2 separate regions of the Homo sapiens genome follow, and region 1 is linked to region 2. The links are contacts of gene promoters, found by promoter capture Hi-C in blood cells and fetal thymus (Javierre and others, 2016). All regions are on one chromosome and are shown on one strand. Each heading gives the region's core, a stretch centred on a gene start or on the middle of the fragment in contact. The rest is flanking DNA. Distances are from core to core; before and after follow the strand shown.

Region 1 (3,954 bases), core at 1,277-3,776, 590 kb before region 2:
TCAAGGGAACACATTTTAAAAATACACCGTCCAATTTCAAGAAACTAGATTTTCAACAGATGAAAACAGTAGCAGAATAAATTGCAGAGTCCAGATCATCTTGTCGCATTGCCCAATGGAGTTCAAACGGATTAGTTTGTATCAAGAGCATAATGACAAACCAGGTATTATTATGCAAGGTTTTCATATTGTTTTACAGAATTTGAACTGGGGTGGGGTGGGGGAGGGAAAAAGTAAGGTCTTTGGAAGGTCTTTGGTCTTTCTGTTTGGAAGACAGAAAGGACTTTGTTTTATCCTGAGCTCCTGATTTCATGAACTAATTTCTGGTGGTAAATAACACTTTTTTTTTTCTTTTTTGAGACAGAGTCTCGCTCTGTTGCCCAGGCTGGAGTACAATGGCACGATCTCAGCTCACTGCAACCTCCGCCTCCCGGGTTCAAGCGATTCTCCTGCCTCAGCCTCCCGAGTAGCTGGGATTACAGGTGCCTGCCACCAAGCCTGGCTAATTTTTGTATTTTTTAGTAGAGACAGGGTTTTACTGTGTTTGCCAAGCCGGTCTGTATCTCCTGACCTCAAGTGATCCACCAGCCTCGACCTCCCAAAGTGCTGGGATTACAGGCATGAGCCACTGCACCTGGCTGCACTTTCTAGAAGGGTGATCTCTCATAAAATAATTCACTGACCATGGCGGTCTACGATTGCATCTTTCCTTCAATGCCTTCACTTTGAAAAATATAAAGGGTGGCCGTCGTTTGTCAGTCTTTACATATTTGGGGGACGTCTTCATTGTCCAACAAAGCCCAACAGTCTCATAGCCATGGATACAATCTGCCTTTCTCACATGATGCACGTAGAAACTGAGGCACATACAGTAAGGGCCGAGTGCTCAGTCAGGTTGTCAGGTGCTTGTCAGGTGAAGTCCCAGATGCTTCATAGAGAGATGTCACCAGGAGGACAGAGTGCTGAAATGAGCACGTGTCTTAAAATCCCTCCCAGGATTTTCTTTGTCTTTGTAGGAGTGTAAGAGTGTGTGTGTGTGTGTGTGTGTGTGTGTGTGTTTGCAGCCTAGCTGTCAGGAGGTCTGGATTAGAGAATTTCTCCATCCTTCAAAGGAAAACCATCTTTCAGAGTAAGTAGTAGCAGGAAGAGATGGATGACAGTAACTGGATTTGTAATACCAGTGAGGCCAACCCCAAACACACACAACCATCACCCTACATGTGGATTGTCTGTGCTAGGAGAAGAAAGTACAGGCGTGAAGAGTGCTAACTTCAGAACACCCCAAAATCAACTAGATTTTTCTTTTTGCCATTTTTGAGGTGATACATTTACTTTTCGAATGACTTCCGTTGAATAATGTTATTTGTTCCATCAGTCCTGGGGAGTGAAGAAAGTGGGTCGTAAAAGTCTGCCAGACACAGACGAAGCCAGACCAAGATGGAACCTTGTGGGCAATCTCAGGTTAGCAGGTAATCAGATCATTCACCCATCTGTCCATCTGTTTATCCAATTCAACCCAGAGATTCACAAGCACCAGGCTCCATGATGGCATATTTTGCAGGCAAATGGCTATTAAGTTCTTCATTCTCCTCCACGTGTTCTGGAAAATCACCAGGTTTCCAGGTAACGACGGGATTGTATTTGTCAGCACAGAACTGGGGATGTGGAGGACAAAGTCTCCAAGGAGTAGTTCTTCTTCCCTGGTAGGATTTCTCAGTCAAAGAAAAATCTTAGACGTGCAACTATTGGGCGATCAGTGGTGCTAACACGGGAACACACATCTTACTGGCAAAACACTGTCCCTTTTATTTTTTTTTTTCTGTAAAACGTTGCTCTTATTGGGAGCTTGAAAAGCATTATCATAAAAAGCCATGGGAAGGGAGAAGGGGAGAGGAAAGAGAGGGACAGAGGGGGATAAGAATTGCCCAGGTTTGGACAAGGACTCTGGAGATGAGGCCCAAGATGATTCATTTCTCCCTGTTCGCTTCCCAGCCCTCAATCCCATCTGGCTCCTTTCATTTGAGTTTTCTATTGCAATGCACAAAACAGATAATTTTCCAAAAGCTTGCTCAAAAGCTTCCAGGTGGTCCAAGAATGGGAGGGGCACTTCTTGCAGTTCAAATGGGACAAGAGAAAAAACATCAAGAAAGCGGTGGGGGGGAGTGAGCTTCAGAGGGGAAGCTGAGACAATGAGGAAAGCAGACCTTTTGAGACATCCTGGATGTTCCCTCCACCCTCTGAAATGGAAACATGACCAGCTACAGACAGATCAGCTCTTAGAGGGGAGGAAAGAGCCCCAGGGTTCAGGAACCAGGAGCTCTGACTTGAGTCATCCCTGATGACTTCCTTTTCCACTCTGAGACTTCAGTTTCTTCACTTATAACATTAGAGACTTGGGCTAGATCAGGGATTTTCTGCCAAGTGCAGAGGGGAACTTTCATGGAAAGGGTGGTATCTATTCCATCCAGAGTGTTCGCTTAGGAACTTGTTCCAAAAGCTCAACTGCTAAAAAAAAAAAAAATACTTAAGAGGCAAGATGATCTTTCAAAGTCATGTCCAGCCCACCAGTCCTACAAATTCAAGCCTGTTTTCCCAGTTGCAGTTGATGAAATAACTATTCTAAGTTCTCTCTCTCCAAAAAGATGAATCCTGTGCTCAGTGAATCTCTGTGGATTGAAGGGATGGATGGATGGACAGACTGATGAATGACTTGATGGCAAATTACATAGGATGGTGAGAACCTGTTTGATCCTGGTCTGGCTTTGCCCATGCATCCGGTGGACTTCCTTGGCCTGGCCCACTTTCTTCACTTCCCAGAACGCATGCAATAAATAACATTATGTTTTTAAGTCACTAGAAAAGTAAATGTCACCCTCTCCCCTCCAAATGGCAAAAAGAAAAACTGAACTGATTTTTGGGTGTCTGGAAGTGAGGACTTTTCGCACCTCTATGCTCCCCTGCTAGGGTAGACCATCAAAAGCTTGGAGTAGCTTCTGACACTTTAATTGGCCCATTTCACATTTCTACCCCTCTACGTAGGGTCACATAAAAGCTATACTTTTATTCCCAACATGGGAAAATAAGACAATAACGAGCTTTATAAATGCTTAATTAAATGGGGGGTGAAAAATCAGGGTATAACAGCCAGAATATAAGGATGTTACTATTTTGAAAAATATCCAAAGCAAAGTTGGACATGTCCAAAGTTACATGTAACTTACATATATGGTCCTTAGCCTTCTGCAGATACACCTTCTGTACAAGCCGAACATAGATTTGGATAGCGACACACAGTCACCTTTCCTGGTCAAACTTTTTCCTTCTGGTACTGTGTCTAGCAACCTATGCTACCAAGCTACCGCGTGGTGGCGCCGTCTGTCCACCGCTGCCAGCCGGCACTTTCAAATTCCACTGTCTCTTTGTAAGGTGAGGCTGTGTAGTGTGGCAGGATGAGCCAGGAAAACTGAAGAGAAGGAGCTGCCAATAGATCACTCTAGAATTCCAGACAGGGTAGTGTGATAGGTTCAAGAGAAGAGCTTGCCTGCATAAAATAAAATTGAGAGCACAATGTGCGATTGCAGATAAAGAATAGAACAGGATTGTGCCGAAGTGACTCAAGGGTGGGAGGGGCATTTTTCTGCTGTGAAAGGGTGGGGACAGTGGGATCAAGATGTCAAAGTATTTTCTCCACAAGTACCTTAGTGTCCTCAGGCTGGGTCTCCAATTCTCAGGCTAAAAGCCACTCTCCAGGGAGACCAGGCTGGGAATGCTGAGACCCAAGTTGCTAGGCAGGGAGGAGGTTAAGATCAGCAACTTTGAGGAAGTAAGGGTCTCCCTAGGATGCTCCACGAGTCTGGGAGACTGAGTGCTGCCTGGGGCAGGTCTAGGCATTGCAAGAGCAGCTGCATGGAGGCTTGGAGGGAGCCAGTGAAGACAGCTTGCTTGTTCAAAGAT
Region 2 (3,828 bases), core at 317-2,816:
CCTCAGGGGAGGGCAGGGGGCTTCGCAGCGACGGGGGCTCCCAAGGACTCCACCCGGATCCAGCTGCTCAGCTATCTGGGCAAACAGTGGGCACCGGGCACACAGTAAGGGATGTGGGAGCCGGTCAGATTGCAAGGGGTGGGAGTCGTGGAGAGAGAGAAGTTCCAGAGGCAACGAGAAAAGAAAAGGCATTGTATTTCCCCTCCATTCTCCCAGGGAGAAAAAGAAAACTTCCAAAGCCGAGGCCGCAGTCACTGGGAAAACACAGGGAACCTGGTTTGAGTTAGCAGCGAGCACCCCTCCCCCAGTCACACACACACACACACACACACACACACACACACACACACACACACACACGCACTTCAGTCCTCTCCCAGGAAGCTGGCTCAGCCTCAGCCCCGGCTCCCGCCCAGCTCTCCAGCCCTCCCGGCCGGGGCACTCACCGGCTGACGGGATCCCCGCGGGCAGGATGGCTCCTGGGGGACGCGCCGGGGGCAGGGGGCAGTTTTGTAACCCCGGCTGGGGGCGCTCCGGAGAGGGGGCGGGGCCAGGGACGGCCGATCCGCGCGCACCCGCCCCAAGCGGGCGATTAAATCATTAACCGACCGCTCCCGCCTGCGATCCCGCTGAGCGCGCTGAGCTCGGGGCGCACTAGCCCAGGAGCGGCCGTCTCCCCGGCTCCAAGGGGGCGGGTGGCTCGACTGCCCTCCCCCCGCACCCCGCCAGGAGGCGCCTCGGCCTCCCGGGCTTCCGAGGGAGCGGGCGGGGCGGGAGCCTGGCGGGGGAGGGAAGGGTTCGCGGGGCGGGAGTAGGGGAAAGGAGGACCATTTGTTCCTTCGGCCATTCCCTTCCAGACAGCTCCTTCCCTCTGGCTTCCCGGCCGGGTGACATTGGGTGGCGTGTGCTGCAGTGTGTGTACGAGAGCGAGATGTGTACACGCCTCTGCCCGTACAGGCGGAGAATTCGGTTCTTATTCATGGAGAACTCCGGGCGCACACACGCCCCCCTCGCGGAGATCGCGGGCCGCGCGCCGCCGATTGCTGCGCTCCTGCCCACACCGACACACACCCCATTCCTGGGAAGGGGGAGGCCCTTTAAAACCGGCCCCCAACCCCCTCAGCGGCACCCTTGGCCAGGGCCGGGAGTTCCAGCGTGGAGAGAGGAAATGGAGTCCCGGCAACGCTGCGCCCGGCTCCCTGCCACCTCCTCCTCCACACATCCCGCTCTGCCAGGACACTAGGTGCGCAGCTTAGGGTCCCAGGCACCGCGGTGGGCGCGGTGAAAAGCGCGAGCGCCGAGAAGTGGGGGCTCCGCGCCCTTCTCCCCGCGCCGCGGCCTCGCATCCCCAGCTTCGATCCTCTCTGCCCCACAGGGGGACTCGAGACCCCCAAGCCCACCCAGGGCACCCAGCGCGAAGGCGGCTACCACAGACAGAGGCGGTTGCCCGTCGCCTACCTCGGTCCCCGGAGACCCGAGCTCTGGGCCGGCTGCGCTGTCCCCTTCGTGGGCTCCGCGCGGCGGAGGGGCTGGCGGCCCCTGTCAGCGCCGGCGTTTGTTTCCCTCTGGCTCTCGGGCTTTCAGGGCTGGGAGCCTCCAGGACACTCCCCTTCCAGGCTCCGCCCGCGCCCGCCCCGCGCAACCCTCCCCGCGCACCCCTCTGCGCTGATGTCACGGCGCCGCAGCAGCCAATGGCCGTCGGGAACCTCTGCCCGACTGCTCGGCCTCCTCGGTTCAAACTGAAAGCCTGAGACTTTCCCAACTCCGTATGGGGCAGCCTGGGCCCGCCCGGCTTCCGGGAGACACTCCCGCCCCAGCCTGCGCTCCGGCCGCGAACCCCCACTGGGGCCCCCAGGGCCAGGGGCGCGTCTCCCTCCGGGGGCCTGGCGCGAGGCTCTTTTGAGGCTCTTCCCCATTCGAGCCGGGGCAAGAAACCAAGAACTCCAGCCCGGGTGGCGTTCCTCGTTCCTGCTCCCTCCCGGACCTGCTAACCACCTGGCTGCAGTACTGTCGGGAGATGGGGCAGGAGGGCTGGCGCCACCAGCTTCGTGGGTGCCATCCCAGACTCTCGCTGTAAACGAGGGAGCGGGGAGGAGCCGGCCAGCCCCGAGGCCAGGCTTGGACTGGGCGTCAGAAATGTTTCTACAGGGTGACAGCCCTTGAGCTCCCCGCATCCCCGTCTGTGCCTTTGCCTCCTAAGTATCAGCTGAGGCTAAATTTGCACCAGGTGAACGTCAAGGAGGATCAACTCCTGAGTCCCAGAGCCTGAATCCAAGTCCCAGGCCTTGGACTCTATTCTTTTTAGAGGAATAGTTTCAGTTGAAATGATCATTATCAAGGTAGAATGCCAGCTGCGAAGTAGTCAACTAAAGTGGACAAGGCGCAAAGTGAAAAGTTCCCTTGCCTCTAGCTGAACCCCACCCTCGGTTTTTAAAGGAAGTGAGGGTGAAGGCCCCAGACTTTCCCCATGGCTGCGAGGTCCCTAAGCCCTCAGGAACATTCTGCTTTCTGGGGACAGCACATTTCCGTTTCCCTCTGCAGTGCGACAGCAACCAGCTCTTGAGAGCTAATGGTTTGGCCACTCCATCCTGCTGTGAAAATTAAGTTCTGGGCTGGGCGCAGTGGCTCATGCCTGTAATCCTAGCATTTTGGGAGGCCAAGGCAGGTGGGGGGTCACTTGAGGTCAGAAGTTTGAGACCAGCCTGGCCAACATGGCGAAACCCCATCTCTACCAAAAATACAAAAATTAGTCGGGCATGGTGGTGGGCGCCTGTAATCCCAGCTACCCAGGAGGCTGAGGCGGGACAATCGCTTGAACCTGGGAGGTGGAGGTTGCAGTGAGCCGAGATCGCGCTATTGCACTCTAGCCTGGGTGACAGAGGTAGACTCCATCTCAAAAAAAAAAATAAATGAATAATAAGTAAAATCAAATTCTGAACTGGACATCTGGAGGGAAAGGTAGGGTTTGGAGCCACTTGGGAGGCAGACACTGTGGATTCAAACCCTGGCGGGGTTATCATGGATGTAAACCAAAAAGTGACTAAGGCAGATCTCAATCAAATAGAGGTTTAGTTAGCCAAGGTTGAGGATCCACCGGGGAAAAATCACCTTTTTTCCAAAAAGGTTTTGGGAACTTCTGTATTTAAAAGAGAAAAAGCAAGCAGGAAAGGAAAAGAAGAGGGAGAGAGGGAGGAAAGGCATTGAGGTCACAAGCGTGTGAGGCTCTGATTTAGTGTCTGTAAGTCTACATTTTACATGTGAAAGGGAATAGAAGAAAAAGTCAATGATGCATTGTCTCCTACTCAGTACGTCTAAGGGGAGCAAAGGAAACCCTGTGTCAACAGGGTTGTGAAACTGCAGCTATCTGGGAACAAAAGGAAAGCAGCTTCTGTGGTTTCCAAGCTTAACGTCCCCCCCAGCCCCGCCCCTTTTTTTTTTTTGGAGACAGGGTCTTGCTCTGTTGCCCAGGCTGGAGTGCAGTGCTGCAATCGTAGCTCACTATAGCCTTGGCCTCCTGGGCTCAAGCGATCCTCCCACCTCACCCTCCTGAGTAGCTGAGACTACAGGTGTGCGCCACCATGCCCAGCTACATATTTTGTACTTTTTCTTTTGTAGAGACAGGGTTCTGTCATGTTGCCCAGGCTGGTCTCAAACTCCTGAGCTCAAGCAATCCACCCACCTCAACCTCCAAAAGTGCTGGGATTAAACTTTCCCTTTGACATAGTGAATTTGGGGTCCCGAGATTCTATTCCCTTTCACATGGGGAAGTCGCTAATTCCCACCTCTGACCCTTAGCTAGCCTGGCTGTCCTTATGTGTCCAAAGAGCA

Evidence for each region. The method cuts DNA at HindIII sites, captures the fragments that hold promoters and counts their contacts. A CHiCAGO score of 5 or more calls a contact.
Region 1: a fragment that was not itself captured here is called in contact with the fragment with the promoter of CDC42EP4 in region 2 in 3 of 17 cell types (non-activated CD4 T cells, total CD8 T cells and fetal thymus); the score reaches 7.9 in non-activated CD4 T cells.

What each region holds. Positions count from the first base shown.
Region 1 is chr17:72,722,296-72,726,249 of GRCh38, forward strand. All of the region lies in intron 7 of SLC39A11 (solute carrier family 39 member 11), which reads right to left. Among named protein-coding and RNA genes, the nearest start is that of LINC00511, 84 kb to the left of the region's middle. RefSeq lists an enhancer at 3,246-3,315 and a silencer at 3,366-3,435. The HindIII fragment of the contact is 904 bases long and covers 2,075-2,978 here.
Region 2 is chr17:73,310,435-73,314,262 of GRCh38, forward strand. CDC42EP4 (CDC42 effector protein 4) reads right to left here and starts at 1,567. Exons shown (of 2, transcript NM_012121.5): 1 at 1,459-1,567. RefSeq lists silencers at 316-445, 456-1,005, 1,456-1,715, 1,786-1,945. The HindIII fragment of the contact is 11,652 bases long and covers 1-3,400 here.